2 separate regions of the Homo sapiens genome follow, and region 2 is linked to region 1. Evidence: promoter capture Hi-C in human tissues and cell types (Jung and others, 2019). All regions are on one chromosome and are shown on one strand. Each heading gives the region's core, a stretch centred on a gene start or on the middle of the fragment in contact. The rest is flanking DNA. Distances are from core to core; before and after follow the strand shown. Region 1 holds the start of IFNGR2 (interferon gamma receptor 2). Region 2 overlaps PAXBP1 (PAX3 and PAX7 binding protein 1).

Region 1 (5,615 bases), core at 3,116-5,615:
GTGCCCTGCCCCAGCCTCCCAAGGGTAAAGGAATATGGCTGCACCTTTCCTTCCATCTTCCAAGTCTCGCACATTGCTAGGGTTTGAATGTGTCCCCAAATTTCACGTGCTGGAAATTTGATTCCCAATATGGCAGTATGGAGGAATGAGGCCTTTCAGAGGTGATTGGTTATGGTGATCCTGCCCTCATGGATGGGTGGATTCATTCATGGACTAATGGGTTCATGGACCAATGGTTATCATGGGAGTGGGGCTGGTGGCTTTATAAAAGAGGGGATGGGCATGGTGGCTCACTCCTGTAATCCCAACACTTTGGGAGGCCGAGGCAGGTGGATCACTTGAGGTCAGTAGTTCAAGACCAGGGCAACAGGTGAAACACCAACTCTACTAAAAATACAAAAATTAGCCGGGTGTGGTGGCAGGTGCCTGTAATCCCAGCTACTTGGGAGGCTGAGGCAGGAAAATTGCTTGAACCCAGGAGGCAGAGGTTGCAGTGAGCCAAGATTGCACCATTGCACTCCAGCCTAGGCAACAGAGTGATACTCCATCTCAAAAGAAAAAAAAAAAAAAGAGGAAGATAAATCCGAGCACCTTAGCACCCTCAGCCCCCCTTGCCATGTGATGCCCTGACCACCTCATGACTCTGCAGAGAATCTCCACCAGCAAGAAGGCCCTCACCAGATTTAGTCCCTAGACCTTGGACTTCTCAGCCTCCCAAAATGTAAGAAATAAATGCCTTTTCTTTATCAATTACCCAGCTTCAGATATTCTGTTATAAGCAACAGAAAATGGACCAAGACACACACAAACATCCTTCCCTGCCCATGTTACCTCAGAACTTTTCAGGGAGGGGAATTCTAGGAAATGCAGTTACAGTTTAGCAGACCTACTGCAGTGCAAACCCACCACAGGCCAAGTCACTGAACTCTGCTAGTGTCCCCATGGGACAGCCATCGCCTGCCTAACTGGGAGGTCTGAGTGTTATAATACCTAGAGAAGCACCACTGGCCAGCAAAAAATGTTGGCTTCTTTCTGCCATCCCCCACCCACTCTCCTGAGGGAGGTGAGAGGAGTCCCTCTAGGCTATTAGAAATGCTTCAGGAAGATCAACTGATTACAAGGTAAGGAATTAATGGAAAGGGATGGTGCAGATTCAGGGTTTGTAGGGCTGAAGTGTATATAATAGATGGAGCCCTCTTTATAAACAAATACACAACTCACTATAAAATTAGGCACAAAAGTATTTCTTTTTCTTTTCTTTTTTTTTTTTTTTTGAGATGGAGCCTTACTCTGCACTCAGGCTGGAGTGCAGTGGTGCTGTCTCAGCTCACTGCAACCTCCATCTCCCAGGTTCAAGCAATTGTCATGCCTCAGCCTCCCAAGTAGCTGGGATTACAGGCACCTGCCACTATGCCTGGCTAATTTTTCTATTTTTAGTAGAGATGGGGTTTCACCATGTTGGCCAGGCTGGTCTTGAACTCCTGACCTCAGGTGATCCACCCACCTCGGCCTCCCAAAGTGCTGGAATTACAGGTGTGAGCCACCACATCTGGCCAAAAGTATTTCTTTAGAATGATATACAGGTTACAATTTTTTTTTTTTTTTTGAGACAGAGTCTTGCTCTGTGGCTCAGGCTAGAGTGCAGCAGCATGATCTCAGCTCACGGCAACCTCCACCTCCTGGGTTCATGTGATTCTCCTGTCTCAGCCTCCCAAGTAGCAGGGATTACAGGCACATGCCACCACGCCTGGCTAATTTTTGTATTTTTAGTAGAGACGAGTTTCACCATGTTGGCCAGGCTGGTCTTGAACTCCTGATCTCAGGTGATCCACCTGGCTCAGCCTCCCAAAGCGCTGGGATTAGAGGCGTGAGCCACCGCACCCAGCCATCAAAGATGTAACCTTGAAACAAACTGCAGAAGCCTTTTCCCTTAGCCTTAAAATGGACTCCATGTCCCTCCCTTCTTCACCGTATAAACTCCCTTCACATTTATCTAACTGTATGCCCGTGTCTAGTTACGTGCCTTCTTAGAGGTTCCAGACGCTAATCTTGAGACAGACAGACCAAGCCTGGAGATTCTTCTGCAAAATTCCACATGTGACCTCAAGGCGTCTAATTAAGAATCCAGCCATTGTTGAGATGATGCCAGACCACAGGCTTCCTGTGGACTAGGACCCAAGACAGCCACCGGAACAAGACAAACAGACAGTGTACTTAGCATAATCCTTGCCTGACTTCCACATCGTTTTCCCGTTTTAAACCCTTGCCTTGGCCGGGCGCGGTGGCTCACGCCTGTAATCCCAGCACTTTGGGAGGCCGAGGCAGGCAGATCACGAGGTCAGGAGATCGAGACCAACCTGGCTAACACGGTGAAAACCCATCTCTACAAAAAACACAAAAAATTAGCCGGGTGTGGTGGCGTGCGCCTGCAGTCCCAGCTACTCGGGAGGCTGAGGCAGGAGAATGGTGTGAACCCAGAAGGCGGAGCTTGCAGTGAGCGGAGATCACACCACTGCACTCCAGCCTGGGTGACGGAGACTCTGTCTCAAATAAATAAATAAATAAATAAATAAATAAATAAATAAATAAATAAAATAAATAACCCTTGCCTTTCCCACTCCCCATACCCCACAATTCAACGTGATTGCTTTGGGGATAGGAATCCAACCACTTCCCCTTGCTAGCTTTGGAAATAAAGTCACTTTCTTTCCACCACATCTTGCTCTTGTTAGACTCTGCAAGCAGCCAGCGACTGAACCAGCATTCGGTTACATCCCCTGAGGCGGATGACACTTGTGTGATCCTGTAACCGATTTCTTGTTAGAATGTTGGCATCTTTCACCCAGTCGTTTTCTTGTAATTTTATTTATTTGTTTGAAAACAGAATCCTTCTTGCAATCCTGTCATTTTCAGTGCCTTTTTTTTTTTTTTTTTTTTTTTTTTTTTTTTTTTTTTTTGAGACGGAGTCTCGGTCTGTCACCCAGGCCGGGGTGCAGTGGCGCAATCTCCGCTCACTACAACCTCCGCCTCCCGGGTTCAAGTGATTCTCCTGTCTTAGCCCTCCAAGTAGCTGGGATTACAGGCGCCGGCCACCACGCCTGACTAATTTTTGTATTTTTAGTAGAGACGGGTTTCAGCCATATTGGCCAGGCTGGTCTCCAACTCCTGGCCTCATGTGATCCGCCCACCTCGGCCTCCTAAAGTGCTGAGATTACAGGCGTGAGCCACCGCGCCTGGCATCAGTGCATACTTTTTGAAGTGATTCCAAGTTATCGCCCGCTTTTTTCGTGTAACATATAAATACATCTCTGTATCTAGAAATATCCAATGCATAATTCAATTGTCTGCGAGGTATTTCATCACGTATTTTCACGAGCGTGGCCAATTTCAAAATAGTTCTACAAAGAGGAAATGCAAGAATGTGGGAAGAGCAAAAGAAAAGCTCTATGTTGCAAAACCCATTTTTGCTAACGTGTCCAGTGGGCTCCCGGGACGACCTGTTTTTAAATTCTTGGTCTCCCTGCACCGCGTCCCTCCTTTGCTGCGCTAGCTTTATGACGCATCTTGGAAGAACAGGGCAGATTTAAAACCCTCTCCCAACAGGCGTCAAACGACATGGTGCAGGCTCGGGCTGGGGAGCGGGCCTGCGGCTGCCCAGCTGCTAAAGGACTTCCTACTCGTGCACCGCCGCCGGCTCCAGGGCAAACCCCACGCCATTTAGAAATGCTGGAAGTTTCTGTCTCTCCCTCCCCCTGCTCGGAGGCCATTCCCCCCACCCCCAGAGCCCCACCTCCTCCTTCACTGGGCCCTTTCTAACTCCTTCCCCTTAAAACCCTTTTCAAAATGGGGTTGACTGGAGGCGGAGGTTGCAGTGAGCCGAGATCGCCCCACTGCACTCCAGCCTGGTGACTCCGTCTCAAAAAAAAGGGGAGGGGGGCGGGGGAGAGTTGAAAGCTTAATATGTACTTTGGGGGCTATTAAAGCAAACATTTCGACTAAAGGGGCGAATCCTCGAATTGTGCGATCAAGCACCCGAGAGGAGAGTTGGGGGGGGTCAGGAGGGGTGGGGGCTCCAGGGAAAGCCCGGGGGTCTGGGCCGGGGTCTCGCGGGGCCCTTCCGGAAGGATCGCGGCCCCCGAAGGTGGGCGTCCCGCGGGGCTCCAGTCTCCAGGACGTTCCGGGAGGCTCCGCGCTCTGGGAGGCCGGCTGCGTGGGGTCCCCGCGCTGCAGCCGCAGAGGCCCCCCAGGGCCGCGGTTCCCGGAGCGGGAAAGTCCCGCGCGGGGGCGGTGGCCTCGGGGGCGGGACGGGGCGGGGGCGGGGGCGCGGGCGGCCGAGCCGAATCCCCTCCACCGGGACGCCCCGCTGCTGCTCGGGAAGAGGCGGGCCCTGCGCGCCCTGCGCTCGCCATGGCGGTTTGGGCGGCGACGTGAGCGGCTCCGCGGACCCCGAGCGGGGCCCCGGCCGCGACCTGAGCCGCCGCCGAGCGCCCGGGGCCATGCGACCGACGCTGCTGTGGTCGCTGCTGCTGCTGCTCGGAGTCTTCGCCGCCGCCGCCGCGGCCCCGCCAGGTGAGCCGGGCCTGGGCCTCCGCGGCGGGACGCGGGCGCAGCCGCAGCATGTGGGGGCTGGGGGACTCCCGGATCGTGGGGTGGGGGGAATCTGCCGGGTGCTCAGAGTGGGTGGGAATCTGCGGGGTGCTCCTGGTGGGTGGGATATGCGGAGTGCTCAGATCAGGTGGGAACCTGCGGGTGCCCCAGGTGGGGGTCTTGCGGGGTGCCCAGGGCTAGAGGGGCCCGCTGGGAGCCCGCAGCGGGGCTGGGATGGGCGGCCAGGAGTTCCAGACAGGAGCTGGGCAGCAGCAGGAAGACGGGGGGCACCCCTCCTGGCGTCCTGGCCGCCGGGACACCCCTCTCCGGGAGAGGACACTCGGTGCCCCTCCGTGAAGCCGGTAACCTCGGCTGCGCCACCTCCCCCACCCGCGCGCCCGCGCCGGGAAAGCCAGCGTGGCCCCAGTCTCCGAATTTCTCGGAATGAACAACAGCAAATTGAATCCAGGGCTCCGGCGGGGGCCGCCTTTGCTGGCCACTGGTTCTGCAGCCTGGCGAGACTGCGCTTAGTCCCCGCCTGGAGTGCCTCCCGAAGGCCTGGCTGGAAGCTAGACTCAGTCCCTTTGTAGTAGCAGCGGTGGAGCAGGGACCAGCGTCTTGGACGGGTGACCCAGACTCAATTCCGACTTTGGCCGAGGGCATGTTTGACACTGGGTGTGAAATCTAGACAGTTCCCGCGGTCATAGAGATGGGGCAGCAGCATTCAGGCAGGGCTCAGAACTGTCCGGGTCCCATCAGTGTTGGGGCGGAAGAGGAAGAGTGTCAACTGAGCCAGGCATTTATTTATTTTATTGTTGTTTGAGACAGGGTGTCGCTCTGTCGCCCAGGCTGGAGTGCAGTGGGCAGCATCTCAGCTACTGCAGCCTCCGCCTCCCGTGCTCAAGCGATCCTCCCACGTCAGCCTCCCAAGAAGGTGGTATTATTGGCCACGCCTGGCCAATTTTTGTATTTTTTGTAGAGAGGAGGTCTCACTGTGTTGCCCAGGCTGTTCTTGTACTCCTGAGCTC
Region 2 (5,410 bases), core at 1,795-4,294, 660 kb before region 1:
AGGTATACCTAAAAAGTTAAAAGTAGATCACACATTTTAATAAGGACTATGACAAGAAAAATAAGCCATATTCCAAATCATGTAACTGAATATTGAACTGAGTGAACTAGTTTCTCAAATTTTTAATTTTCCTCATTGAAGACCCTAAAGTAATTAATACTTAATAATCTATTAGTTCATTCCTCAACAACTGCCAAGCAATAAAGCTTTAGAAATCTTTCAATTCCTTAGTCTACATAAAGATTTAAGACCAGACACATAATCTAGCTCTCAAAGTGAAAATTCAACAATGACAAAGAGCACCCACCTTCTCTACATTTAAACAGCTTCTATGAATGGCCCCTGAAGAGCATTAACTTTAAGTTTGGCAACTAGTTATAAAACAGTATCTAGTTGTTTTATATGCTGTTTAAATGGTTTGGGTGCCCAATCTTTTGGCTTCCCTGGGCCATACTGGAAGAACTGTCTTGGGCCACACATAAAATACAATGACACTAATGACAGCTGATGAGCTAAAAAAAAAAAAAAAAGAAAAAAAAAAAGGAGGGGGGCGGGGTCTGTGCATAAATTTCATGTATTAAGACAGTTTACAAATTTGTGTTGGGCCGCATTCAAAGCCGTCCTGGGCCACATGTCCATGGGCCACGGGTTGGACAAGCTTAAATTATCAATTGTTAACATTTTGGTTTCTCATTTCCCCCCAGAAAATACAGTCTTTAAAAGGACATTTGATTAGTTGGATTGGGACTGAGGTGTGGTGGTGAGAAATCATAATGAAAGGCTATTTAAAATGATGACATCTTCCTTCCATATTGATTTTTTTAAACTGAAAACTAACATCTCTCTGCGGGACTAGGTATAAAAAAAAGAAAAAAAAAACCTAACATCTCAAATTTTGTGTATTTCAGGCTTTAATGGCCCTGATGGCCCAAGTGGGAGAACCAGATTTCTGATTGGTTTAGGATAACCACTCATTCTCTCAATGCTTGCTCATATTCAACAGAAAGAGGAAAAAAAAAAAAGGCTTCAAAAGATACTAAATTACCTGTGTATTTTTATTTTCTGCATTCACTACTGAAGGATATCCATTGATTAATTTTAGTGTAATTCCCACCATTCTTGAAGTCTGTGTTGTAGAAAAAGGGTCCCACATATTTTCAGCTATCACTATTAAGAAAAAAAGAGGATTGAGACACAGAAGCCAATTGTACCTTTAATTTTTTGTCAAGCAGACCTCTATTAATGCCAATCCTAATTTATTTTTCCTCTTTTTCTACAATATAAGCTTTAGTCTTCTTTGTCCTATTAACTGTGGGAATTTGGAGGGATAGGGATGTGGAGAGAGGATAGATTATTCTTATTTCTGGTACTCAGGGAAAATAAAGATTAGGAAAAAAGAGGATTTCTGTAGAAATGTTGTCTTGGCATCAAGAATTTCAAACTAACATTTCTAGTATTTAAAATAGATTCCTGTATCAATGATTCCTAATCTTTTTTGAGGAACTTATGAAAGCATTTTAATTGCTCCCCACATAAATGCATATCCTCCTCCCTCAAACTCTGTATAATTTTGCTTCAGTCAGTCTTTGAATTTCTAAACCTCACCTATGAAGCAATTACTGCACTCAACTACAGGCCCACCCTAAAGTGGTCTTCAAGTCCCAGGATAAGAACCCCTCTGCCCTCTAGCCATCTCTGGGCCAGGTGGTAACTATTATTTCTCATGTAATTTCTATAAGGAAACATGCTCTGAATTATAAACTCATAAAAATAGATTTGAGAAAGCCAGTGTGTCTGAATGCTCAATTCAGAGAACAGGAGATTTACCTGTTAGTTTAGGAAGAATCACCTTTTCCACAATGGTAGGTAGTAGGGCAACATCTACATCATCTTTTTCTTGCTCTCGTTCTTCACAACCATAAAACAGCAAAGATTCAAACCACAGCATATTCTCAAAGTCACGACATTTTGCCTAAAAGACATTTAAAAGGTTACCCAAATACTAAAATAGTGGCTATTTCTGCTTCCAGCTATGATAAGAGAAACAAGAACTGGATTTAACCTTTGGTTGCAAACAACTAAAAACTGGACGGCTGGAGATATCATGCTACCAGACTTCAAACTATAAGGCCACAGTAACCAAAACAGCATGGTACTGATACAAAAACAGACACATAGACCAATGGAACAGAATAGAGAACTCAGCAATAAGACCGCACACCTACAACCATCTGATCTCCGACAAACCTGACACGAACAAGCAATGGGGAAAAGATTCCCTGTTTAATAAATGGTGTTGGGAGAATTGGCTAGCCATATACAGAAAATTGAAACTGGGCTCCTTCCTTACACCATATACAAAAGTTAAGTCAAGATGGATTAAAGACTTAAATGTAAACCCCAAAACTATAAAAATCCTAGAAGAAAATCTAGGCAATACCATTCAAGACATCGGCATGGGCAAAGATTTCACGACAAAAACACCAAAAGCAACTGCAACAAAAGCAAAAATTGACAAATGGTATCTAATTCAACTAAAGAGCTTCTACGCAGCAAAAGAAACTATTATCAGAGTGAACAGACAACCTACAGAATGGGAGAAAATTCTTGCAATCTATCCATCTGACAAAGGTCTAATATCCAGAGTCTACAGGAAACTTTATAGGAAAAAAACAACCCCATTAAAAGTGGGCAAAGGACATGAACAGATACTTCTCAAAAGAAGACATTCATGTAGCCAACAAACATGAAAAAAAGCTCAACATCACCGATGATTGGAGAAATGCAAATCTAAACCACAATGAGATACCATCCCATGCCAATCAGAATGGGAATTATTTAAAAGTCCAGAAACAAAAGATGCTGGTAAGGTTTCAGAGAAAAAGGAACACTTTTACACTATTGGTGGGAGTGTAAGGAAGACAGTGTGCCAATTCCTCACAGATCTAGAAGCAGAAATGCCATTTGACCCAGCAATCCCATTACTGGGTATATACCTACAGAAATATAAATCATTCTATTATAAAGCTACATGCATATGTATGTTCACTGCAGCACTATTCACAATAGCAAAGACATGGAATCAACCCAAATGCCCATCAATTATAGACTGGATAAAGAAAATGTTATACATATACACCATGGAATACTATGCAGCCATAAAAAGGAACGAGGTCATGTCCTTTGCAGGGACATGGATGGAGCTAGAAGCCATTATCCTCAGCAAACTAACGCAGGAACAGAAACCCAAGCACCACATGTTCTCGCAAGTGGGAGCTGAACAATGAGAATATATGGACACATACTGGGGAAAAACACACACTGAGGCCTGTTGGGGGGTGGGGGTGGGGACTTGGGGGAGGGAGAGCAACAACAGCTACTGGATGCTAGGCTTCCTACCAAGGTGATGGGTTGATCTGTGCTGTAAACCACCATGTCACATGTTTACCTATGTAACAAATCTGCACATGTACCCTGGAACTTAAAAGCCAAAGAAAATAAAAAAGAACTGGACAAAATACAATGGACCATAGGCAGCACAAGACTATGACCCTTTAAAGAAAGGAATCAAATGAGGTGAGATGCTAGTTCAGGACAGCAGAGCAGTTTTGCTGAGTGGAGGAGACAGAGGGTGGAGCTCAGGAAGGCTGACACAGCTGGAAACTGTGGGGCAGAGGAGTGGGGGACACAGAAAAATAACTCCAAAATACAGTCTTGGGCCTTTGCTATCTACCAAGACACTCATGCACACAGCAAAACTTCAGAAGGTCTGGCCAAGAGCACACAGGAAATAGGAGCTGTGAGCTGAATGCTTCTCAGAGCTCACATTTTTTTCAGTTGTGTTTCCATGGCATCAACCTCAGCTCCCTTTTCCTTATAGTTCACAAATTCAACCTAGCCAATCTCAACCATGTCTACAGCTTCACCCACGTTGGTAACTTCTAAAACCACATTGTAAACATCACCACTAGACCTCCAGAGTCAATTCTAGCCCCCTCCCTTATATGACAGGCCAATAGGTCCTCTTGATTCCACCTCCTTATCTTTTTTTTTTTTTCTTGTGGCAGGTCTTGTTCTATCACCCAGGCTGCAGTGCAGTGGCACAATCATAGCTCATTACAGCCTTGATCTCCCGGGCTCAAGCAATCCTGCCTCAGCCCCCGAAGTAGCTAGGAATATGAGCACATGCCACCACAGCTAATTTTTTTTTTTTTTTTTTAAGTAGAGACAAGGTCTTGCTATGTTGCCCAGGCTGGTCTTGAACTCCTGAGCTCAAACAATCCTCCCGCCTTGGCCTCCCAAACTGTTGGGATTACAAGCATGAGCCACCATGCCTGGCCTATCAATTTTTCTCACCATGACAACTGACTTGGGTCATGTCCTCATTTCACACCTGCCTCATTGTGCTTTCCCATCTGGTTCTGAGTTCCTCTAGGATCAAAGGACCAAGTTCTTACTATTCATGTTCATATCCCAGTGTTACTGCATATAATTTCAGCTGGCTGAAAAAAGGATTATATGTAAACTGAAAAAACAACAACAACAACAAAAAAAACACATAGCTCTGCTGGGAAGACATGAAACTTAAAAGGAAAGATCATAAGATTATAACCAGATACAATCTATCAATTATAGCCTATGCCCTATCACCCCTGCAAAATATTTTGCTTAAGCTTACATCTCTAGCTTTGAGATTAAAATTACCCAGATATCAAATTATAACACTTTCTAATAGTGACAGAAGCCACTCACCTCAAGAGGAGTCCAAGTGAGGAGCTGAAGTCGTATGAGGGGGTTGAATAATTTTGGCAAACAAAGGCCAATGTAAGCATCTTTGTAGGATGTGTAGTATTTTGAACGCCATGCTTCAAACTGTGATTTAATACAGTCAATTGAATAGAAACTTTCAAGGACATCTTCAAAAACTTTGCCGGATTCTTTTGAAATTCGATCTAAAAACAACAAAACCCCACAGAGAACCATACATTAGTATGAAGTAGGAAAAAAACAGTCCAATATTTTCAGTGTTTTCTTTGTAGCTTCAGTATCAGAAGATACGCTCATTAACAAAGGGCCAATTGTTAGTCACAATTTAGAAGAAAAAAATAAATTGAAGTTTCAATTTGTCTATTATGTAAACTAAAGTGCAGCCAGTCCTTGTTTTGCAGTTCCAGTATATACAATTTTTCTACCACAGTTTGGCTAAATAAAACCTGTTCCCAAACAAGATGGTTCAAATTTCAGTTACTACGGTGTATTAGCCATAAGTAATTGTGCCGCTAGCTTTTTAGTTCACAGATCACTGCACAGATTAACAGCTGTGCATCATAATCAGTCACTAATCACATTGCTTCATTCAAACTCTGTTGGTGATTATAATAACTGACATAGCCAACTATCAGCTGAATGG

The links. Contacts are between HindIII fragments. The study calls those that stand out against the background at their distance.
Region 2: a contact is called between a fragment that was not itself captured here and the fragment with the promoter of IFNGR2 in region 1, in 1 of the 25 tissues and cell types used here (dorsolateral prefrontal cortex).

What each region holds. Positions count from the first base shown.
Region 1 is chr21:33,399,048-33,404,662 of GRCh38, forward strand. It overlaps IFNGR2 (interferon gamma receptor 2), which reads left to right and starts at 4,366. Exons shown (of 7, transcript NM_005534.4): 1 at 4,366-4,569. The coding sequence starts at 4,497. RefSeq lists cis regulatory regions at 2,911-4,098, 3,483-4,098, 4,081, 4,091, 4,368 and 2 more, promoters at 3,314-4,470, 3,314-3,952, 3,324-4,491, 4,086-4,490 and silencers at 4,045-4,584, 4,595-4,674, 4,695-4,744, 4,885-4,934. The HindIII fragment of the contact is 6,342 bases long and covers 1,106-5,615 here.
Region 2 is chr21:32,743,747-32,749,156 of GRCh38, forward strand. It overlaps PAXBP1 (PAX3 and PAX7 binding protein 1), which reads right to left. Exons shown (of 18, transcript NM_016631.4): 11 at 4,753-4,952; 12 at 1,828-1,972; 13 at 1,046-1,167; 14 at 1-8. Among named protein-coding and RNA genes, the nearest start is that of PAXBP1-AS1, 18 kb to the left of the region's middle. The HindIII fragment of the contact is 5,225 bases long and covers 433-5,410 here.